Linked DNA regions of Homo sapiens: regions 1, 3, 4, 5, 6 and 7 are each linked to region 2. Evidence: promoter capture Hi-C in 16 types of primary human blood cells and fetal thymus (Javierre and others, 2016). All regions are on one chromosome and are shown on one strand. Each heading gives the region's core, a stretch centred on a gene start or on the middle of the fragment in contact. The rest is flanking DNA. Distances are from core to core; before and after follow the strand shown.

Region 1 (3,420 bases), core at 586-3,085, 710 kb before region 2:
GTTTTTATAACAGTTAAAGCTTGACTTGAAAAAAATGTATGAGTAGGTAATTGCTAAAAATATGAAATACAACCTGCCAGGCTAGGAGACTAATTGCTTCAAGCTTCCTTGTGAGTACATATATTTCCTTTATAGAAGCACATAATGCAAAATATCTAAGAACAGAGCTGACGCTGTATTACAGATTAATCTTCTCCTTCTGGTGAAAGAGTTTAACAATACTGTAAGTGTAGCGTCTTTGTCTCTTTTAATCTCTCAGTCTCTTTCTTTGTCAGTGTTTCTGTCTCCTGATGTATTAAACCTCTTAAAAGAGACAATACTTTTGTGGAAAAACTTCAAGGTCATACTCCTTGTAACATGTCCTGAGTTCTGGAGGTCACAGCCTGGGATCAAGAGGTTGTCGCCAAACTCAGTCCCCTCTGTGGTAAAACACTAACCTATCAGCTGAACTATTGAATTGGTGCCTCAGAAACATAATTCTAACAAATACAACCATATGTGGATAATACATGGATTTTGGACAGAAACAGACTTGCTAAAAGTTTCGTAGTGTTCCCAGAACCAGTTATATAATTATTGACTAATTTTTATTACTTTGGTATCAGCTTTGTGCCAAATGTGGGCAGTTTTTATTTTTTAACCCAATCTGTAGCAAAGTGATTGCAGAAGCAGATTTCTATGTAGAAGGGAGAAAGTAGCCATACATGGTAAGTATTTACATTTTATGATGTGGGGGATACCTACATTAATAATTTAATTTGCCTTTTGCAGACAGATGTTCTGTTGTGTTATTGATATTGCTGCAAACTTATTGCCACTTACTCTCAGTGATGAGACTAACAGTTTTCTATACTTTTGATTGCTATGTAAAATCATGTTATAGAGAAACTTGTCTAATTTTATGGAAGCAAAGACTACTGGTCCTGTGATTGGTTAGGTAATATAATCTTCTCAGAATAAATAGTAACAACAGCTTTATTTTAGCAGGAAAGTAAGAGTTTTACTATGTAGAAGTATAGTAGTCAAAGGAAACAATTGTCCAAACAATTTATTTTAAAGAACAGAAAACAAAAAGAAGAAAAAATGTTTTATTAGAGATAATCATATACATCATGCACTTCATAGCAACGTTTCAGACAATGATGGATCACATATACAATGGTGGCCCCATAAGATTATAATACAATATTTGTACTAAACTTTTTTAATGTTTAGATATGTTTAGATACAAAAATACTTACCATTGTGTTACAATTGCCTACAGTATTCAGTACAGTAACATGTACAGGTTTGTAGCCTAGGAGCAATAGGCTATACCATAGAGTCTAGGTGTGTAGGAGGCTATACTATCTAGGTTTGTGTAAGTACACTCTATGATGTTTGCTCAATGACAAAACCACCTAACAATGCATTTCTCAAAATGTATCCTTGTCATTAAGCAACATATGACTGTATTAGTGAAAACTAGATTTTCACCAGATGACAAATCCAGATAACTAAGTTCTTACATCTGAATATAGTACCTGCAACTGTTTGACTTAAGGCCAAAACATTTTAAATAATTATTTTAAAAAAGCATTATTAAGAAATAAAACTATCTCTATTTGAGATGACATAGTTTTCTATATATATATATATAGAAAATTCTAAATAATCCACTAAAAATCTGTGACTAACAACCTCAGCTAGATCATGACATACAAATCAATATGTAAAAATCAATAATATTTCCACATTTGCAATAAACAGTCCAAAAATGAAATAGAGTAAACAATTTCATTTACAATAACCTCAAAAGGAATAAAATTCTTAGTAAACAATTTCATTTACAATAACCTCAGAAAGAATAAAATTCTGAGGAATAAATTTAACAAAAGAAGTGTGACACTAATACTCTGAAAACTATAGAACATTATTGAAAGCAATTAAAAATCTAAGTACATAGAAATATATTCTGTATTCATGGATTGGAAGACTTAATATTGTTAAGATGGCACTATTCCCCAAATTGATTTATAGATTCAACGCAATCCCTATCGTAATCCCAGCTGGCTTCTTTGTGGATCCTACAATGCATACGGAAACTCAAAGGACCTAGAATAGCCAAAGTAATTTTAAAAAAGAAGAAAGTGGGAGGAGTTGCACTTTCCAATTTCAAAATTTACTATGAAGCAATAGTAATCAAGACAATATTGGCGTAAGAATATGCATGTAGATCCATAGAATAGCATCGAGAGTCCAGAAATAAACCCATATATTTGTGGTCAATTGATTTTCACTGAGGGTGCTAAGACCATTCAATGAGGAAAGAAGAGTTTGTTCAATAAATTGTGCTGAGACAACCGGATAGTCACAGGAAAAAGAATAAAGTTGGACTACTACCTCATACCCCATATGAAAATCAACTTGAAGTGCATCAAATAATTAAATATGAATGCTAAAACTATAAAACTCTTAGAAGAAAACATAAGGATAAATTTTCATGACCTTGGATTTGGCAATGGTTTTCTAGATGCATTACAAAAGTATGAACATCAAAAGAAAAAAGATACATTAATTGGATTATCAAAATTAAAACCCTTTGTGCTTCAAATGTTATTATCAAAAAAGTGAAAAGACAACCCTCAGAATGACAGAAATTATTTGCAAAACATATCTGATAGGGAGATCATATCAAGAATATGGAAATAACTTGTACAATTCAATAATAAAAAGACAACCCAGTTGAAAAATGGTTAAAGAATATGAAGGGACATTTTTTCAACAAAGATACACAAATGGCCAAAAGGCACATGAAGAAATGTTTAATATTTTTAGTCATCAGGAAAATGCAAATCAAAACCACGATGAGATGCCGCTTCACATTCACTTGGTTGGTTATAATCAAAAGTCTGAGAATAACAAGTGTTAACAAGATGTGAAAATGTTGGAACCCTTCTAAACTGCTGGTAGGAATATAAAATAGTGCAACTAGTTTGGAAAGCAGTGTGGTGGTTCCTCAAAAATGTATACATGGAGCTATCATTTGACCCGTCAGTTACACTCCTAGGTATATACCCAAGAAAAATGAAAACATATGTCCACGCAAAAATGTGTACATTGATATTATAGCAGCATTATTCATAATAGCCAAGAGATGGAATCAACCCAAATGATTATCAGCTGATGAATGGATAAACAAAATGTGGTATATCTATATAATGGGACATTTTCAACCAGTAATAGGTATGAAGTACGGATACTTGCTACAAGTTGGTTAAAATATTATATTAAGAGAAACAATTCAGTCCAAAAAAACACATGTTACATGATTCTATTTATATAAAATGTTCAAGATAGGAAAATCTGTAGAGATGGAATGTAGATTTGTGGTTGCCTGGGGCTGGGGGTGGGAGTTCGGGTGTTTTGGGAGGTGAAAAC
Region 2 (3,728 bases), core at 425-2,924:
GCAGTGGGTTAAGAAGTGACTGAGTGGGGAGAATGTAGTCTGGATTTGGGATAAATTTAGGATAGAAAGGGATTGAGCCCCTATTAAAGGCTAGTGAGTGCGCCAGTCACTTTAGCACTGCTTTCTAATGTCATCCAAACAAAACTCTAAAAGGAATGTGTTGTTATTCACCATCAAAGAAGAAACTCAGATCTGGAGACATGGTGTGACTCCAGGAGCCTATCTTCTTTTCGATCAACTCCATTGCCCTACAGAGGGGAAGAGGGATAAATGCAATAGACATTGACTGAAGATTTTACTGCATATGGTCAAGAACTGCACTAAACATTTACATGGATTGCACACTGAAACTTCAGTTTAAATGCTAATTTCACTATTAATAGTGTGGTTATCTGGCCTGAGGCCAGAAATCAGACTCCCTGAATTTGGATCTCAGTTCTGTCACTTACTATGTATCCTTTTGCCTCAGTTTCCTCATCTGTAAAATGGGTTTTGCTGTGAAAATTATTTGGTAATATACTTGAAATATAAATAACAAGGCATGTCTAGAGCATAAGTGTGGAGAAAAATGTTAGCTCACAGTTGTTTTTTGTTTGTTTGTTTGTTTTTTGTTTTGAGACAAAGTTTGCTCTGTCACCCAGTCTGGAGTGCAGTGGCACAATCTCGGCTCACTGCAACCTCCATCTCCTGGATTCAAGCCATTCTCTTGCCGCAGCCTTCCCAGTAGCTGGGATTACATGTGCGCACCACCACGCCCAGCTAATTTTTGTATTTTTAGTAGAGATGAGGTTTCACCATGTTGGCAAGGCTGGTCTCGAACTCCTGACTTCGTGATCCACCCGCTTTGGCCTTCCAAAGTGCTGGGATTACAGGCCTGAGCCACTGCGCCAGGCTGCTCATAGTTTAATCTCCATTGTACAGCCATGACAAGAGAGAATTAGGAAGACAAAGCTAGCGACTCTTACATTCTGTTCCGGACTCCGGGATCTTCCACACACCCTTGTTTTTAGCCACCACTGCACCATCCTGCTGGGAAACCTTTTGGGGACCTGTAGGAAGGAAACCTTTGGGGGAAGCTGTAGGTGGGGTTGTGGTGTGTTTGCTTGTTTTCTTATTTGTTTTTAACATGATATTGACTCGCACATATTTCTCACCTCGAGAGAAGATGATGCGGGAGAGAGGGGCGTTATGATGGGTATGCTCTCAGAAAGACAGGAAGCTATGATGACGGGCTGCAGGTGCAGGGGCCCGCAGTGTCCGTCAGAAGAGGCTCGGGAAAGTAAGCGAGAATGGTGTTCACGTTGTGACTTTGTTTGGAATCATAAGACCGAAAAGCCAGGAAGAAGTTCTGTTTTCCTCTGCCCTCTTGCTAGCCACCACACAGCCACTGTTCTTGGAGAATTAAAAAAAAAAACAAACAAAAACAAAACAAAACAAAACAAAAAAACCGTCCCTCCTACCATTTCTTTAGTCCTGAATCTCCTTTTCCCTTCCTCTCCCCAGCCATCCCCACCCCTACTTCCTCTTCTCTCCCTCCCGCTGCCAGTTCTCTGGTTACTCCCCCCCTCCCTTGCTTCTATCCCAGCCTGGTGCAAGCTAAGAGGGCGAGGACGAGGGAGTGGGAGAGATTGGCTGAGGACTCTACAGATCAGCTAGAGAGCGAAAGAACTAAGTCTCTCTCTCTCATACACACACACACACGCACACACGCGCGCGCGCGCGCGCACACACACACACACGTACACTAAAAAACTCGGACCAGCCGCGCCGCAGCTGCTCCAATCCCTGGAAAAGGCAATCGAGCGCCCTCCGGACCGCTGCGCACAGCCCCGGCTCCGACCTGGCGCCCAAAACAGAGCTAGTCCTAGTCCCTCGCGCGGCCAGTTTGGCCGGGTGTTCCCAAAAATAAAGCGAGGAGGGAAGGTACAGACAGATCTTGAAAACACCCGGGCCACACACGCCGCGACCTACAGCTCTTTCTCAGCGTTGGAGTGGAGACGGCGCCCGCAGCGCCCTGCGCGGGTGAGGTCCGCGCAGCTGCTGGGGAAGAGCCCACCTGTCAGGCTGCGCTGGGTCAGCGCAGCAAGTGGGGCTGGCCGCTATCTCGCTGCACCCGGCCGCGTCCCGGGCTCCGTGCGCCCTCGCCCCAGCTGGTTTGGAGTTCAACCCTCGGCTCCGCCGCCGGCTCCTTGCGCCTTCGGAGTGTCCCGCAGCGACGCCGGGAGCCGACGCGCCGCGCGGGTACCTAGCCATGGCTGGGGCGAGCAGGCTGCTCTTTCTGTGGCTGGGCTGCTTCTGCGTGAGCCTGGCGCAGGGAGAGAGACCGAAGCCACCTTTCCCGGAGCTCCGCAAAGCTGTGCCAGGTGACCGCACGGCAGGTGGTGGCCCGGACTCCGAGCTGCAGCCGCAAGACAAGGTCTCTGAACACATGCTGCGGCTCTATGACAGGTACAGCACGGTCCAGGCGGCCCGGACACCGGGCTCCCTGGAGGGAGGCTCGCAGCCCTGGCGCCCTCGGCTCCTGCGCGAAGGCAACACGGTTCGCAGCTTTCGGGCGGCAGCAGCAGGTGAGTGCGCGAGGTGAGACTCCCTTCCCGCGGTCCCGCCCCAGCTTTCTCCCGGGACCCCCCACAGCTTCCTTGTCTGCCCCTTGCTTGGTGGCGCTGCCTAGGGACCTTTCTCCGCCCTCCTCAGCTGCCCTCTGGATTCCTCCGTCCAGTCACACCCCGCGTGTCGCCAGCTGCATCTCCTGTAAGCCCAGTTTTCAAATCCAAAGTGAGAGGGGGAAATAGAATGAAGGCGCGGAGCAGTGGAGGGGTAGGCTGGAGGAGCTTCGTGGAAAAAGGGAAGGGGCGACACCCCATGCCTGTGAGGCCTCCTGCCCTGAGTGACTGGAGCACCTCTAGGGTACCTTATTCTGTTGATTCCTAAATCGGCCAGCGGAAATTCCTTTGGACTGGGCTTTAGCCATGTTTACTAAGAGGCAGATGCCATTTTATGCCAATGCCAGGACCCGAGAGAAATCATACTTGAATAAGACGCCTTCCCCTCTCCTTTTCTCCTTCCCCAGTCGCTTCTCCAGATATTGCACCCGCTCCTAATTCGCGCCCTTTGTGTTACTGTACTATATTTGACACTTTACTTGATAGTTCCTTAGTGGCAAAAAAAAAAAAAAAAAAAAAAAAAACAGGTGCTTGGGTGTTTCGATTATTAAAACGCATCTGGGTAAACAGGGGTTGTACCATCCATCCTGGGAGGAGCTGGGAGACAAGGGGAGGGAGCAACCCTGGATGTAAACACCTCTTGGAATCTGCCCAAGAAAATCTGCTCATCCCATTTTTCAGCACAGATCACTTCGGACTGAAATTCATGGCTTAACAAGGTTTCTCCTAGCCCCTGTGGTGAAGGGAATAACTTATGCTAACAGCCTCCCTCCCTTGTGTTAACAGCTTGAGGGAAAGCTTCCTGGACACTAACTCTGTTTTTATGCTTTGAGGATTCACCAGGCTTTTTTGTTCACTACATTCATGATAAGGGGAAATGTAACTGCAAAGCCTGTCTTCAGTGAACAGTTGAACAATAGCCAAGAATCTTCAAGAAAATGAGGCCATGCCTCAGTCAATACTGTCAGAATCACTAGAAAGAAATCTCCCAAAGTTTTGATATGCAAGACTCCTGGAAAAAGGGAAAACTAAGGCATTCATCAAGGAAAGCCCTGCATTGTCTGT
Region 3 (3,317 bases), core at 96-2,595, 660 kb before region 2:
TGGAGCTGGGGTGGCTGGGGTTTGGGATGCAGGGACTGGTGTCCTGAAACTGCACAGGATAGCGGGGCACTGGGCTTAACACATAAAATTGTTCAGTCCTCCTAGGCCTCCAGGCCTGTGATGGGAGGGGCTGCCACGAAGGTCTCTGGAATGCCTTTTGAGGCCTTTTCCCCATTATCTTGGCTATTAGCACCTGGCTCCTTTTTTGTTATACAAATTTCTGCAGCCTGCTTGGATTTCTCCCCCCAAAATGAGTTTTTCTTTTCTATCACATGGCTAGGCTGCAAATTTTCCAAACTTTTATACTCTGTTTCTCTTTTAAATATAAGTTCCAGTTTTAGATTATGTCTTTGCTCACACATATGAACATAGGTTTTTACAAGCAGCCAGGACATATCCTGAATGCTTTGTGCTTAGAAATTTCTTCTGCCAAATACTCTACATCATCATTCTCAAATTAAAAGTTCCACAGATCCCTAGAGCCAGGGCACAATGCAGCCAAGTTCTTTGCTAGGACATAACAAAGTGATCTTTGCTCTAGTTTCTAATAAGTTGCCTCTTTCAATCTGAGACCACTTCAGCCTACCTTCACTATTCATATCACTATCAGCATTTTGGTTACAATCATTCAACAAGTATCTAGGAAGCTTTAAGATTCCCCTCATTTTCCTGTCTTCATCTGGGTCTTCCACATTTTTCCCATTATCCAGTTTCAAACCTCTGCCCATTACCCAGTTCCAAAGCTGCTTCCACATTTTCTATTATCTTTATAGCAATACCCAACACCTAGTACCCATTTTCTGTATCAGTCCATTCTTGCATTGCTATAAAGAAATAACTAAGACTGGGTAATTTATAAAGAAAAGAGGTTTAATTGGCTCATGATTCTTCAGACTGTATAGGAAACAGGGCAACATTTGCTCAGTTTCTAGAGAGACCTCAGGAAACTTACAATCTGCTGAAAGGTGAAGGGGAAGCCAGCATTTCACACAGACTTAGCAGGAGGAAGAGAGAGATGGAGGAGGTGCCACACATTTTTAAGCAACCAGATCTCACAAGAACTCACTGTCACAAGGACAGTACTATGGGGAAATCTGCCCCCATGATCCAATCACCTCCCAACAGGCCTCACCTCCAACACTGGGGATTACAGTTTGGCATGAGACTTGGTGGGAATGCAGATTCAAACCATACGAATGGGTTCCCTGGTCGGGATGCAACTTTGTATTGGATTTGATGCTTGTGTAGCAGGCGTTCAATGAGTCCCCAGATAGCAGTGCTGGCTAAGGCCGAAGAGGAGAAAAGCCAAACTCTGGAGTTGTGAGAAAATATATTTCTGTTTTAAGCCATCCTCTCTGTGATACTTTATTATAGCAGTCCTAGAGAACTAACACATTGAGTAAGGCTGTAGTATATCAGGGAAAATGTATGAAGTGGCAGGCCCCCAGAGCTTTGTAGGGTTTATCTGCCCTCCTCTGGAGTGACCATGCCTTTTGAAAGCCAGGTACTACTCATTTCTTGTTCATCCTTTCCAATCAGCGTGATGTCACTGATGGAATCAATCAATGTGAAGTTCTGTGGGATGCCCAACCAGCCCAGATTCCATTATGACAGAGGACAGGAGAATAAACATAACCCCGAGACAAAATTGTAAATACATGTTATTGTCTGTTTAATGAGAAATCAAACTGATTTTGACTTTATTTCCTAATTGAGGCAGAAAAGAACTTATTCACGAAATCAATAGCTACATAGTATCTATCTGAAGACACATTAGTCTGTTCCAGCAAGTAGCACTGCAACTGCAATTAGGGCTACTACTTGGAGGAGCTTGTGGTAGTCTACACTTATTCTCCAGGATTCAACATGGGGGTTGTGCCAGCTGCCATGTATGACAATCTGAATTAGACATTTCAGTCAATGATCCCTGAGTGGCTGCATAGACACAGTGGACCTAACCCTTGCATAGACACAGTGGACCTAACCCCAAGGGTTAGGATAAACTAACCCTTGGCCAGGACTCCATTTCTCATCTGACCCCCATAAGCTTCCACTCTAAGAGCGGGGCCACAGTGATTCTTTGGATCTCTAGATACCAGTCTCAGCTTGAATGCAGATTGAATGCAGATTCAGTAGTCCATTAACTGTGTGGGTATTACATTTTCCTTTGTGTGTACTCATTTGAGTAAATGCCCATAGGTCTCTTTGGGGGAGAAGAGAATCACTGCAATGAATACTTGCTATGGTGAATACTGCATGTGGTCACATATTTAGTCAACAAGTTCTTGGTCTAAAAACTGAATGATATATGGCAGTGCATCGTGCTTTTTTACTGGAATGGCTGCCTTCAACCTCAAGTAACCATCTTTAATTTCTAACTATGATACAAATTGAGTTATTCCTTTATTGATTGCCCATCTGTTTTGTTCAAGGATTACCATGTTCTATAAACCATCTTCATAACTTTCTGCAGTGCCCTTGGTGGTCATTGGGCACATTACATCATTGGTCCTTATGATAATTACAAGTCCCTGGTGTCTTATGGTTAAGTTCCATCACTTAGCTTCTGTTGCATCAAGGTACTATTATGCCCATTGTGCTTAGGGTAGCCTAGGTATGCAACAAGGCTTTTCTGCATTCAGCCCTGGAATGCATTGGAGAGCCATCACTGAACTTCTTAATGATTCTGATGCTTCAGTAACTAGCACATTTTTTATGCTATTAACGACTGGCTATCTTCTGGGTTCTTCTATAGACCATGATCTTCCGGTGAGTTTTCTGGTCTCACACAATATGTTTCTTCTAGGATTGCCATTTTCCTGAGCATTTTCCTCTCTTCTTCAAAAGTCTCTCTCTGAAATTTAGGCCTTTGAACTGCACTCAGTGTAGGCCATTGCTTGTTCCAGGTTTCTTGGAGTCACGCTAGCAGAGTTTGCCTCATCTTCTGGGGTCCGTACCAGAATGCAATGCCCTGTGTTCTGAGAAAGTGTCATGTGAATAAACTCTGACTTATTTAGTCTTATTTCTGCTTTCTCTGACCTAGAATCCCCAGAATCTAGTCCAATGAGTCCCTCTAGTCTTGTTGGTACAAGTCCTAGGTCTTGTAGTATATGTGGGATAATATTCCTTTTTTTCTTATCAGACCTACCATGTCCCTATCTGTGACTTGACCATATTATCAGCCTGGTGGCCAGAAGTGTAACTCTGATAAGGGAACTGGGGATATCTCCTGAGGCACACACCTGCTTTTATGTGGGAGAAAGGCCTCTATTTTCTTTACATTGCTGCTGCTAGTTGTGGGGGTTTGCTAGCTCTTA
Region 4 (3,374 bases), core at 613-3,112, 640 kb before region 2:
TCTTGTAAGGCATTGTAGTACATGAATAAATGTAAGTATTAATAGTGTACCTTCCTTGTGTCGTTTTTTATTTTAAAGGGATAATGTCTACTATTTCCCTGTTTACAGTAATATGTGGGTGTGTACATGTGTTTTTGTGTGTTTAACATGGAAAGTTCCCTTTTATATGCTCTTTAATAAGTCAGATGATCATACTATTTTTTCTTCTTTATTAAGTGTTGAAAGACATTTAAGGAATTTCTAATACGAAATCCTCCTTTTATGCCTGGGATAAGCTCAACTGGGTCATTTATTATCTTTATTATTCACTGCTGGATTGGGTTAGATAATAATTTATCTGGATTGTCTTTTGGATTTTCTACCCAGTATTATCTGCTAATCATTCCTACCTAGTATTACAATAATGAACAATTCTTCTCTTTAGAGCTTCACTTTCTAATCACCCTACACTCCAACTTACTCCATCTCTGGGTTTGAGTTAGTCTTTCCGAAGTCCCATTTTAAGAGTCTAAGGATTTATTAAAACACACTCCATTATCATAGTTCTGATCCCACACCTGGGAAATTAAAAATTAAGGCAATTTGCAGCTGTGGAACATTGTAGTCCAAGCAAGAGACCTGTGCTTACAGTGGCCAAAGACCAGATCAGAAATTGAATGGTATTTGAGGAGTAAATTAAAAAATTGAATATATTTTGTTTTAGTTGCATCAGGTCAAGATACTTTAGCCGAAATGTTTATTTGAGGAGAAAGGCTTGACTCTATCATTGAGAAAACAAAATAGACTGAATGATTCATATTCTGATACCACATTGGCTAACCGAGTTCATTACTTTGTGCCTTTATTGCTTAACTGATAATAAAAATAGCTAACCTTATTGAGCACATTCAAATATTCAGACAGTACTAAAATCCTTATATAAGCATTTACTATTTACTTCTTTAAACACATTTTATGGATGTTGAAATTGAGGCACAGAATTTTAAGAAAGTGCCTAAAGTCTTTCAATTAGCACATAGTAGAGCTGGAATTGAAATTGAAGCATAGTGTCTCCAGAGTCCCTGGTGGTTTCCAGTTTAATAATTGACAACCAGAGTGATTTTTCCAGAATTATTAACATAGATTTATTGAGGTATAACTGACAAAAATTATACATATTTATAGTATGCAATGTGATGTTTTGAAATACATATACATTATGAAATGATTATTATAATCAAGCTTATTAACATTTCCATCACAATACCTTTATTTTATGGTGAGAATATTTAAGGTCTACTTTCTTAGCACATTTCAAGTATACAATATGGTGTTATTAACTATAGTTGCTATTCCGTACATTGTATCTCCAGAGCTTACTCATTCTAGATTACTGAAACTGTATACCCTTTGACTGACATCTCCCGATTTACCCTACCCCCCAACCCCCTGGCAACCATCTGTTCTCTGCTTTTATGAGTTTTACTTTTTATATTCCACATATAAGTGAGATCAAACAGTATTTGTCTTTCTGTGCCTGGCTTATTTCACTTGACATAATGTCCTCCAGGTTCATAGTGATGTTGCAGATGATAGGATTTTCTTCATTTTAAAGACTGAGCAATTCTCTCCTCTCTCTCTCTCTATATATATGTATATATACACACATATATGTATATATGTATATATGTATACACACATATATGTATATATGTATATATGTATACACACATATATGTATATATGTATATATGTATACACACATATGTATATATGTATATATGTATACACATATATGTATGTACACACATATGTATATATGTATACATGTATACACACATATATGTGTATATATGTATATATGTATACACACATACATGTATATATGTATATATGTATATATACACACATATGTATATATGTATATATACATATACACATATATGTATATGTATATATGTATACACACATATATGTATATGTATATATGTATATACACATATATGTATATGTATATGCGCACATATATGTATATATGTATATACACACATATGCATATATGTATATACACACATATGTATATATGTATATATGTATGTACACACATGTATATATGTATATATGTATGTACACACATGTATATATGTATATATGTATGTACACACATGTATATATGTATATATGTATACACACACACATATATACACACATATATATACATATACACATATATACACTCACACATATATCCTGCATTTTCTTTATGCATTCATCTATTGATGGACACTTAGGTTGATTCTATATCTTGGTTCTTGTGAATAATGCTGCAGTGAATATGGGAGTGCAGATATCTTTTCAACATGATAATTTCATTTCCTTGTATACTCAGAACTTGGATTGCTGGATTATGTGGTAGTTCTATTTTTAATTTTTTGAGAATCTTCATAGTATTTTGCATAATGGCTATACCAATTTGTATTCCTACCAATAGTATGCAAGGATTCCCTTTTCTCCACATACTTGCCAAAGCTTGTTATCTTTTGTCTTTTTGATAATCGCCATTCTAACAGGTGTGAAGTGTTATCTCATTGTGGTTCCGATTTGCTTTCCCTGATGACTAGTGATGTTGAGCACTTTTTCATAACAGTCACACACTGTATAACAACATTTTGATCAATGACAGACTGCGTATGCAAGGTGGTCCCATATGATTATAATGAACCTGAAAAATTCTTATTTCTTGGTGATGTCATAGTGCAATGCATTATTCATATGTTTGTGGTGATGCTGGTGTAAAGAAACTGCTGTGCTGCCAGTCATATAAAATTATGGCACAGATTCTGGGTGTGGTGGCTCATGCCTTTAATCCTAGCACTTTGGTAGGCTAAGATGGGACTACTGCTTGATCCCAGGAGTTTGAGACCAGCCTGGGCAAATAGTGAGTCCCCCATCACTACAAAAATTACAAAATTAGCCAGGCATGGTGGGACATGCCACAGACACTCAATGTCAGCCAGTGAAGAAAGCTAGGAAGTGGTGTGTACCCCAAAAAGCCACAGCGGTGGAGCTGCCCAAGTCCATGGGAGCCCATCTCTTGCATCAGTGTGACATGGAGTCAAAGGAGATCATTTTGGACCTCGTGACCTGCATTTGAGACATGGAGTCAAAGGAGGTCATTTTGGAAATTTAAGATATGACTTCCCTATTGGATTTCTGACTTAGACCTTTTCGGCCTTACAGGCCTTTCTTTGGCCTGTAGCCCTTTCATTTTGGCCGATTTCTTCCATTTGGAATGGGTGTATTTACCAGATGCCTTTACCTCCATTGTATCTAAGAAGTAACTAACTTGCTATTGATTTTACAGGCTCATAGGTGGAAGGGACTTGCCTTGTCTC
Region 5 (3,395 bases), core at 238-2,737, 810 kb before region 2:
GAAGTTTGAAGTATGTATGAAAAGTAAATCAAAGTAATACTAAGCTTACACACCCCCATTTTATATTCATATTTCTCCAAGTAAGTATGGAGCTGAACTAGCAGAAGTTTTCAACAGTTACTGAAACCTCACTAATACTATAAAACGACAATATTTAGTTGGGGAAGATCTATAAAGTTCAGCTTCTAAAAAATTCCCTAACCTTATGACAATTTTCCTATGTTAGGAAGAGAATAAAATGATAGTTCAAGATGTTTCAGCATATTTCCACATGCTCTTTAGAACTTGCTTGGGATTTTTATGTTTAAATGAAAACATAGTTTGTGAAGATATTTCTCATTTTCTGTAATAAATATCATCTTACTTTTTATTTTACTCTTTGGAAAAGACAGCTATCTTTAAAAAAAACATAATTTATGATGCCTTTTAAGAGAAATTGCATCTTTATCTTAATGAAGATCTCTTCTATTTTTACTATTTCATTACACCGCCATAAATCAACATCTTGTTTTCAACGTGAGCTTTGTAAATAGATTTCCTTTAAGATCCTGAAGTGAGGAAGCAACTGGGGCTGGTTTATGGCACTTGTTCAGCAGCAGAGGATCTGGACTGCTGCAGAGGATTAATCTTATTTTAGAATTCGGGAAACCAGCATGTGCTGTCTGGTCAGTCTTGGAGAGGTGTGCCACAGACCAGCTATATGAAAGGCAAAAGAAATGAAACATCAGTCCCAGAAATGCATGTGCTGATGAGATTCCATCACTCATTTCTCAGGAATCTAATTTGTATCTGTCATAGGCCAATTGGAAATGCATTTTTGACCAATAAATATCATGCCATGTGTGAAAAGTAGTTTTTACAGTTTATCTTATTTTAAACATATTAGATCATATTAAGATAATTTGTGAAATCCTTTTGAAGCAATGATTTTTAAATTTGGAAAGCAATCCAAATAAATACATTATGTTACTAAGAGTGTTTTTAAAATATGTTATCCAGATTCTATGCCCTTAGCCATTTATATTTATAATAAAAACTTATATTTATTCAAACATGAAAAGAGCCTACTTTATCAGTGAAGCTAAGAGCCCACTAGAGGTCACTTTTTCAACTTATTTTCCTTAATAACTGAAAAATTCAACCTAGATTCTCATCACTGTGTCTTTCTTATATGTCCTTGTTCACAGAGTTAGAACTTTTATTTCCTTCCAGAAAAAAAAAATTCTGCTATTTCTCAAAGTTTTTTTTTCTAAAATCCTTCTAATAATACTCCTAAGAACTTTTTCTTATTTCCTGAGGTCACAATTAATTTTTTTTCCATTTTTTTTCAAGATGGGGGTCTCACTATGTTGTCCAGGCTAGAATGCATATAGGTATGATCATAGCACACTACAGGCTTGAACACAGGCTCGAGATCCTCCTGCTTCAGCCTCTGGAGTAGCTTGGGTTACAGGTGCACACCACCTCACCTAGCTTCCTGAGGTCACATATTCTTATTTTTTAAGTATAATTTCTATTGTGACATTTTAAATGACCTTCTTAAGTACCTAATGAAATCTATATTATTTTTGCTTACTTAAATGTTATTATTTGAATACTAGCAACGTCTATTTCCTAAAGTTTTAATGGACTTTACAATGTTATACTAGTATGAAAGAACCAGAGGATGTGCAGCCTTCTTAAGACTTAGAAGTATCCGTTTAATTTCTATTTCTTGCTGCAAACACCAGTACTGCTGAAAAATGCACAGCATTAACACCTGTTGAATTGAATCTCTGTTTTCATCATCTTTTCCCTGGTGATCCATTAGAGCTGTTTTGAACCACGTTTTAAAAAGCAATATTTCTAAAGTGTGAATGCCTGATGTACTTTACATAAATAAAGGACATTTTATCATTTTTTCCTTACATTTGAGGTTTTGACTAGCATGAAAATGTTCACAAGCTGCTATTACGTTGTTAGTTTCACTACTTGTGCATAAAAAGTAGCATTTCAAACATAGTCTTGCGTGTAAACTATTAGGCCATCTGGAATAAGGTTACGGGTGTCCTGGCTTCCTAAACGCCCACATATATTTCTTGTATCCATAACTACATTGATTCTAAAGTATTTTCTCAGTAATTTAAAAAATTTAACAAAATTGCCATTTTAAAACCCAGAAATAGTATGATATCTCATTTATCAATAGAATAGGGACATTAGTAGGAAAATCACATACAGAGGCTTATTCTTACCTTCCAAGGAATATCTATCGCTTTATGTCATTCATCTATCACTCACCTATCTAGATACACTATAACAAAGGCTACTTTAACATAATTTGTGCCACTTTTGGAAAGACCTTATTGAAGAATATATTTATTATCTGAAAAAAGAGTTAAAACATCAGATGGGCTTTAAATTGTTTTACAAATAATAACTAATTTTAACAGTGTTACCTGTTCAGACCTTGTGATAAACACTCACATTCAAATGTGTGTTCACTTAGAATATATATCATAGTATTTTGTTGTTTTGTGTACACAGGTATTTTAAATAAAAAGTAACACTGAACAACTTCTCGTATGTGTTTGGTTTTATTCAATAATAGATGTTGGAGATATCTACGTGTTGTTTCCTATACATCTCTCCCATTTTTTTTTTAACTACACATACTGTCCTTGAGAATGGATGTACCCATAGTTAACCCATTTTTCTAGTGAAGAACATTTAGTTTGTTTCTACTTTTTCCCTCTTACAAACAATGTGGCTGTGTATATCCTTGTATACATGATCAAGCATTTCTCTACAGTACATATTGTGATATAATTGCTAGATTATAAAGAAGAGGCATTTATTTTATTGATTCTGTCAAATAGCTCTCTCAAGTGGCTGCACCTAACAGTGCTTGTAGAATACTAGACAACCTACACCCTTACCAGCATTCAGTATAAAGCTTTAAATTTTTTATTTTCATGCTATCTCACATTTGAAATTGCATTTTCCTAGTTATTAGTACTAGTTAAGTTTATCTTCTTTTCTTATGTTTATTGAATATATGTATTTCTTCTGTGAATTGCTTATTCATGTTTTTGCACATTTTTTTCTATTGCAACATTTGCTTTTTCTTACTAATCCCTAATTTTAAAAGATTTTGAATATCGAAGACATTTGTTATATTCATGCAAATATTTTTCCAATCCATCTCTTGAGCTTTAATTTTGTTTATGACTTCTCTGCCCGAAAGAAGTTTTTATTTTGATAATGCCAGATATATAAATTCTTTCTCCTTTAATTTCAGTTTTGACATCTTGCTAAAGAAGGCTATCCCTATCTTCAAAACAAATGTACCTCTGATATTTTCCTCTAATTATTTTATAGTTATATTGTTATTGTTGTTTAGATCTTCAGATTTT
Region 6 (3,509 bases), core at 705-3,204, 680 kb before region 2:
AAGAAAAATAATGACATTGCATTTTGTGGTTTATAACATGCACAGAAATACAGTATGAAACAACAATAGCACAAAAGATAGCAGAGGATAATGTTGCAATGGGTTCTTATACTTGAGATGGTGTAATATTATTTGAAAGTAGAATGTAATAAGCTAATAATTCTTGTAAATCACAGAGTACCTGCTGAAAAATAAAGTAGACATATAACTAAAAATGTAATAGTGGAGATAAAATGGAAATAAGAAACAAAAAATAGAAAGCAAAAATAATCAAATATCAAAGCAAATGGGACTAATAAGAAAGAAATAACAAGGTAGTATATTAAAACCCAACCATACTGAAAATTACATTAAATGTAAATGATCTAAACATTTCAATTTAAAAGCAGAGATGGTCAGAATAGATAAAAGTTCAAGAGCCATATATGCTGTCCCACCTTAAATATAAATACAACAATTTAATGTAAATGTATTAACATTAACAGATTAATAATAAAACATTAAGATTAATATTAATGTTATAGTTATAGTAATATATTAATAACATTAAATTAACAATCTATTAATGTTAATACATTAAATTGTTTTATAATTAATGATTTATTAATAATTATGATTTATAAATAATGTTAATATAATGTTAATTTTATATTAACATTAATAGATAATTTTAAATAGATTAAAAGGATGGGAAATATGTATTATACAAGCATAAAGAAAAGGAGATTTATAATGTCTATATTAATATCAGGCAAAGTAGACCTCAGAACTAGAAGTATTTCAGGGAAAAAGAAGGACTTTTTAATATAGATAAATGAGTCAATCAATACATTAGCTTACATGCCTCATGCCAGATCCTCAAAATGCGTTATGCAAAATTGATAAGAATTGAAAGAGTAGACAAATTCACAATTGTTTCTAGAGACATAAACATTCTGTTTTCAGTAATTGATAGAACCAGAAGTTAGAATAAATGTAAGTATGTAAAAGATTTAAAGAGCAGTCAAAGGCCAGGTGCAGTGACTCACACCTGTAATCCCAGCACTTTGGGAGGCTGATGTGGGTGAATTACTTGATATCAGGAGTTCGAGACCAGCCTGGCCCACATGGTGAAACCCCGTCTCTACTAAAATACAGAAATTATGCGGGGACAGTGGTGCACACCTGTAATCCCAGCTACTTGGGAGACTGAGGCAGGAGAATCCCTTGAACCCAAGAGGCGGAGGTTGCAGTGAGCCAAGATTGTGCCAGTGCACTCCAGCTTGGGCGACAGAGTGAGACTCTGTCTCAAAAAAATAAATAAATAAAAGAGCAGTTCACACAATAATAGAATACCTATTCTTTTCAAATGCACATGGGACATTTATGAAGAAGGACCATATGCAGGGTCATAAAACAAGTCTCAATACATTTAAAATACTGAAATCATACAAAAGTATATTCTGTGATCATAACAATTAAAACTAGAAATCAACTATAGGAATATACCCCTCAAATTCCAAAATATTTGGATAATAAACAACATAGTTCTAAATAACGCAATGTCAAAAAAGAAATTAAAAGAAAAATTAGAAAAAAATTTGATTTGAGTAAAAAAGAAAACAAAATATATAAATGTTTATTGGATATACATAAAGGAATCTATAGAGGGAACTTCACAGTTTTAAAAGTTTATATGGGGAAAGGAGAAAGGTCTAGAAATTAATGATAGTAGCTTCTACCTTAAGAAGCTTTAAAACAATACAAATTGAGTCCAAGCAAGTAGACAGAAGGAATAACAAAGAGCAGAAATCAGTGAAGTAGAAAATTGAAAAATAATAGAGATCAATGCTATCAAAAGTTACTTTTATAAAATATCAATAAAATTGACAAACCCCTTACTAGGCTGATTGTAGTCACCCTAAACATCTCTTCCAAAGTCATACTCCCTTCTTGGGGCAGTTCTCTTTAAATTACTGCTTATTGTGGATAAAAAGATGTGGCCACTTTAATCAATTTGGGTCAACTCGAAAGGACCATCCAACTCCAGAGCTGCTGAGGCCCTGTTATAAATTATCTCACTGCCCAATCCTGCTTTCTTCACCCCTGTGGGAGTGCAAATTCTGAGAGTGCTCTCCAGTAAATTTTCTGCACACAAATCCACATCCCAAAGTCTGTTGTGGGGAGACACCTCCTGCAATAAGCTTATTCCAAAAATGTCATATTGTTTTAACATTAAGAAATGTGGTATTATAAATTATCCAGATTGCCAAAAATTAGTAGAAGATGGCATTTGAGTATGCCATGCTTTCTGACACTCCCAACTCTAACCTTTCTATCTTGAGTCAAGTAGCTGTTCCTGGAAGCAGTTAGCTTGATACAAGTGAAGCTTGAAATCTGTGGAGGTCAAACAAATTGTTGTGGGGCTTTCTCCCTGGGCAGGTTGAGAGGGCAGTATCTACACTATCTGTGATACGGTTGAAAGGGCAGAGAAACTAATTAATAGTACAGAATAGAAATAGAGAAATCACCTCTAATATACTTAAGAATTGAGTATAAAGAAATGTAAAATTTCAAATCAGTGGAGAAAAGAAGCAATACTTAACAATGTTTCAGCTGTGTCTTTTGGAATAAAAAAACTTTTTGAATAAGTAAAAGTATTTCTCTTTCAACACCAGGCACCAAAATATATCCTAAATGCTTTGAACGTTTTGGAGTAAGAACTATTAAGAGTTTCAGGAAAACAATGACCTAAGAAGACTGTTTGCAGATATTTTGCAGACACTTATTTAATATATTTATTACACACACAAAGTTGTTACTAGTTAGTAATAAATGAGCAAAGGGTTCATTTAATAATTCAAAACAATTCAAAAGGAAGAAATGCACATGACTGATAAATGTGTGAACAGATGGTGAATCTCACTAGTAATCAAAGCAATACAAATCAAATTAGGATTTCATATCATTTTCATTTCAGAGGAAGGCAGTGACCTGAAGGCACAATAATTATGTACAATATCTGTCCTTACAAATTGTCTGGAATATGTAATCACTAAAGTTTTATTGTATATATACTTAATGGAAAGGTGTTCAAGATGTACAGTTAAATGTTGAAGAAGTAGGTCATGAGAGATTTTACACAGCATGATTCACTTTTTTTGGTAAAATGTTTAAATGATTAAATCTGCAAACTTTTCAATGACCTTTATTTGAACTTTATTAATTACAACATATTTTGATTTTTAAAGCATATATATGACTTTTTTTTCACTTTTATTTCAAGTTCAGGGTTACATGTACAGGTTTGCTATATAGCTAAAAGTGTCATGGGGATTTGTTGTACAGATTATTTCTTCACCCAGGTATTAAACCTAGTACCCATAGTAGTTTTTCCTGATCTTCTTCCTTCTCCCATCCTCCTCCCTCTGATAGCTGCCAGTGTGTGTTTTTTCCCTCTATATGTCCATGTGTTCTCACTGTTTAGCTCCTACTTGTAAGTAATAACATGTGGTATTTGATTTTCTGTT
Region 7 (3,513 bases), core at 841-3,340, 780 kb before region 2:
CTGTTGTCCAGTTGCTCTTTCACCTTCATACTAAAAAGCAACAAGTAAAATATGAGTGTGCACAGGATTATGTGTGTTTCATCAAAACTCTAATCTCTCCCTTGCTATTAAAATGTTTGCTCTTGTCTGATTTTTTCCATTTCAAACACAAGAGGGACTCTTTAATATAGCTTTAATATGTAGACAGGCTAGGAAATCCCCAAAAGAAAAATGTGTTTTGTAACATACTGATTTGACAAATGGAGTGTCATTCTAAGGCTTCATTCTGGCACTACCTGACAGGCACCTTTGTTATCTAGAAGAAATATGGCTACACTTGCTGGTAGAACACATAATGCAGGTACCAGAAAGTCATCACTCCAGTAATGACAAGACACCAGAGATCATTATTTCCTAGCCTGAAAACCTTGTGTACCATTGTTAAAATGGAGGCCTGTCATTTTACTGTATGTCATCTGATGACATTATCTCTGATATTTATGACAAAGGAAGCACCTTGTGACTTTTACCACTCAAATTAAATAGCATTTTTTAATCTTTCACTGGATTGAAGAAATCTGACTTAGGAAAGGAAAGCCCATTTAGATACATTCGTTGACTTGCGTTGAAATGTGAATTCCTCTCTCCTCCAAAAAGATATCCTCCAGAATCTCCAAGGGGGAGAAAGAGGGATTCTGTTTTGATAGTTAATGGTCGTGAGGCTTACAAGTTCCCAGAAACTGACAATACTGCTTTGTTTATAGGCATTAGCACCTTAATTTTCACAGCAATAATTGAAACCGTACTCTCTGAGGCAGAGGTTATTGGTGTTTCAATTTTGCAAAAGAGGAAATTAAGGTCCAGAGAGGTCAAGAAACTTGCTCCAGGTGGCAGAGCCAGGAAGTGTTCTGAGCGTTGTGCATGTCACGGAGGCTCGCATGCTTTATCTTCTAGGGTCAGATGTGCTGCTGGAGAGGGATAATGCTGCATAGCTCACCCAAGCAGCTGCCAGTGCTGATGCTTAGATGTGTGCTGATTTCTTCCTGTCAGATGCTTGAATCTTGTGTCAATTCATATTAGGACCTTAGTATTTCCTGCTTCTCAGCATTAACATTTCCTGTAATAAGCTTCTTGTGATTCCCTTTAAGGACCTCCAACCGAAGAGTCCCCCAGAGTTTTGCTTAGTTAACAATCCTGCTTTCAGTGGCAGTATATTAACTATGAAACAATTGCAAAGGAATAGTATAAGAGTTTCCCTCTGCCTTATTAATAAATAAAAAGGTAATACAAATCTTTTTTCTTTTCTTTTTTTTTTTTTTTTGAGAAAGGGTGTTGCTTTGTTGCCTAGGCTGGAGTAGGTGCAGTCACAGCTTACTGCAGCCTTGAACCCTTGGGCTCAAATGATCCTCCCACCTCAGCTTCCTGGGTAGCTGAGACTGCAGGCTCAGGCCACCAGGCCCAGATAATTAAAAAAAAAAAAAAAAAAAAAACTTTGGTAGAGATAGGGGGTCTCACTATGTTGCCCAGTCTGGTCTCTAACTCCTGGGTTCACATGACCCTCTTGCCTCTGCCTCTGAAAGTGCTAGGATTACAGGCATGAGACACCACATCCAGCCACAAATTCTTAATAGCAATTTCAAATGTTAATAACAAACCCATGGTGATCTTTCACATTGATATAGACTCTTTTTATTTTTTTGAGACAGAGTCTCACTCTGTTGCCCAGGCTGGAGTGCAGTGGCGTGATCTCGGCTCACTGTAACCTCTGCAGTAGCTGGGATTACAGGTATGTGCCACCACGCCCGGCTAATTTTTGTATTTTTAGTAGAGACAGGGTTTTGCCATGTTGGCCAGGCTGGTCTCGAACTCCTGACCTCAGGTGATCCACCTGCCTTGGCCTCCCAAAGTGCTGTGATTATAGGCATAAGCCACTGTGCCCGGCCTGATAAAGACTCTTTATGATTCTTCTGTTTCTTAAAACATGTAATCTTTTTAATTTTTAATCTTAGCCATGCTCAAAACTTTTACTAATATGACTTGCTATAGTAAACATACAGTACTGTTGCTTATCTTTCTCCAACAAATCAAAGTACATAGTAAGTAAAGAGGCCTGAAAGTACTTTTTAAAACTTTAAAAAGTAATCATATATGAGGAAAACAAAGTTGAGAAGGTTGTATCTTGGTTTTACTAATGGAGAAACTGAGGTGAAAATGGGTTGAAGTTTGTTGCAGCTTAGCCACTGCAAAGTTTAACTCAATCAGGGTGAAGTTATTTTAAGACACATAGCTTTAACTACCATGGAATGAGGGTATCTGCTATAAAGGTATTCTGATATGGAAACCTGAAGTGAACTCCCTTTCTTTTAGAGAGTGGACAGGTTATCATTATGGATCAGAGCCAAAAGAGATGACACGTTGGTGACATTTGTTACCTTTATATAGTTCTGGCAACAACAACAAAAATACTACTATTTGAAGAAGATGGTTGAAAATGCAGATGGACTTCTTTAATTATCTTCCTTTCCTTTAGTGTTGTCCTTCAAAATAAGGTAGATAAATTTCATTCATTCTATAATCCACAAATATTCACTGTAACTGTCTTTCAGCTGCTGAAATACCAACAGAGAATCATATCAACCTTGTAAAAAGCTATTGGACCAAGCTCTTCTGCCACGAAAAACAAAGAAGATGATTAATTTTATTTGCTTTACTGTTTGCATTTCCCTAAGACACAATGAACTGATTAAAATACTTTTGTACTCATTCATTAGGCTTTTTTGTATATTAAGGTGCATTATTTTGACATACTTACCACATAATTATATTTGTGTAATGATTTCACATTCATAGTCATGCGTGTGTTATTTTCTTCTCACAACAAAGCATACCAGAGGAAAAGTTATAACTCCCATTTTTACAGAGAACAAAAATAAGGCTTTGGAGTTTGACCATGGCTATGCAGCTACTCTGAGTGTGTGTGTATGTTTATATGTGGGAGTGGGCTATAGAATTAGACTTCATGTATATTGGTTTCTACTAGCACTTTCTATATTCCCCGTGCTATCTTTACAAAATGAACTAAGTTTTGAAGCACCACAAGCTTCTACTCAGCCCTGCTGGCATTTTCAGGACATCTGGATGACAAGGTTTTCTTTGTTTTGCTTTGAATTGTGGGTACCGCAAAGAACCAGTAGCATTTCTGGCACACGTTCCAATTTTCTGATTCAAAATCTCTCTGTCTATTTGATGTTGCTACTACGAAATTCATATAGAAAAAGACGTTAAAAGGTTAAGTGGTTTTGGTGTGTGTAAGAACAAGGGTGAACACCCTACTGCTTCTCCTTTTTTTCCTGGATTCCTCTCACATTTACCTACTTCATTTATGGGGTAGAGAGGGATGGGTGGAGTTGTAAAAGAAACATAATAAAAGCAGAGGGAAATAAGAGCAGCACCTCTGAGGAAATTTCCTGCATTCAAAAATTATAGGCTGGAATAAAATGTCTGGATTAGAATTTTGTTTCTCCTCATTCTACT

What was found. Contacts are between HindIII fragments. The CHiCAGO score rates a contact against its expected background, and 5 or more counts as called.
Region 1: a contact is called between a fragment that was not itself captured here and the fragment with the promoter of BMP3 in region 2, in 7 of 17 cell types (activated CD4 T cells, naive CD4 T cells, naive CD8 T cells and 4 more). The highest score is 9.7, in activated CD4 T cells.
Region 3: a contact is called between a fragment that was not itself captured here and the fragment with the promoter of BMP3 in region 2, in 16 of 17 cell types (total B cells, naive B cells, naive CD4 T cells and 13 more). The highest score is 25.1, in total B cells.
Region 4: a fragment that was not itself captured here is called in contact with the fragment with the promoter of BMP3 in region 2 in 14 of 17 cell types (total B cells, total CD8 T cells, naive B cells and 11 more); the score reaches 11.0 in total B cells.
Region 5: a contact is called between a fragment that was not itself captured here and the fragment with the promoter of BMP3 in region 2, in 1 of 17 cell types (M1 macrophages). The highest score is 5.7, in M1 macrophages.
Region 6: a fragment that was not itself captured here is called in contact with the fragment with the promoter of BMP3 in region 2 in 15 of 17 cell types (naive CD4 T cells, activated CD4 T cells, total CD4 T cells and 12 more); the score reaches 25.5 in naive CD4 T cells.
Region 7: a contact is called between a fragment that was not itself captured here and the fragment with the promoter of BMP3 in region 2, in 3 of 17 cell types (total CD4 T cells, naive CD8 T cells and total CD8 T cells). The highest score is 6.1, in total CD4 T cells.

What each region holds. Positions count from the first base shown.
Region 1 is chr4:80,314,650-80,318,069 of GRCh38, forward strand. No RefSeq gene overlaps it. Among named protein-coding and RNA genes, the nearest start is that of CFAP299, 19 kb to the right of the region's middle. The HindIII fragment of the contact is 3,468 bases long and covers 102-3,420 here.
Region 2 is chr4:81,029,034-81,032,761 of GRCh38, forward strand. It overlaps BMP3 (bone morphogenetic protein 3), which reads left to right and starts at 1,675. Exons shown (of 3, transcript NM_001201.5): 1 at 1,675-2,567. The coding sequence starts at 2,252. The HindIII fragment of the contact is 6,285 bases long and covers 1-3,459 here.
Region 3 is chr4:80,371,179-80,374,495 of GRCh38, forward strand. All of the region lies in intron 2 of CFAP299 (cilia and flagella associated protein 299), which reads left to right. Among named protein-coding and RNA genes, the nearest start is that of CFAP299, 37 kb to the left of the region's middle. The HindIII fragment of the contact is 1,400 bases long and covers 646-2,045 here.
Region 4 is chr4:80,388,869-80,392,242 of GRCh38, forward strand. The region is part of intron 2 of CFAP299 (cilia and flagella associated protein 299); the gene reads left to right. Among named protein-coding and RNA genes, the nearest start is that of CFAP299, 55 kb to the left of the region's middle. The HindIII fragment of the contact is 1,287 bases long and covers 1,220-2,506 here.
Region 5 is chr4:80,220,256-80,223,650 of GRCh38, forward strand. No RefSeq gene overlaps it. Among named protein-coding and RNA genes, the nearest start is that of PRDM8, 24 kb to the left of the region's middle. The HindIII fragment of the contact is 2,891 bases long and covers 43-2,933 here.
Region 6 is chr4:80,351,278-80,354,786 of GRCh38, forward strand. The region is part of intron 1 of CFAP299 (cilia and flagella associated protein 299); the gene reads left to right. Among named protein-coding and RNA genes, the nearest start is that of CFAP299, 17 kb to the left of the region's middle. The HindIII fragment of the contact is 453 bases long and covers 1,729-2,181 here.
Region 7 is chr4:80,252,780-80,256,292 of GRCh38, forward strand. It overlaps LOC124900725 (a long non-coding RNA gene), which reads left to right. Exons shown (of 2, transcript XR_007058161.1): 2 at 2,586-2,742. Among named protein-coding and RNA genes, the nearest start is that of FGF5, 12 kb to the right of the region's middle. The HindIII fragment of the contact is 1,973 bases long and covers 1,105-3,077 here.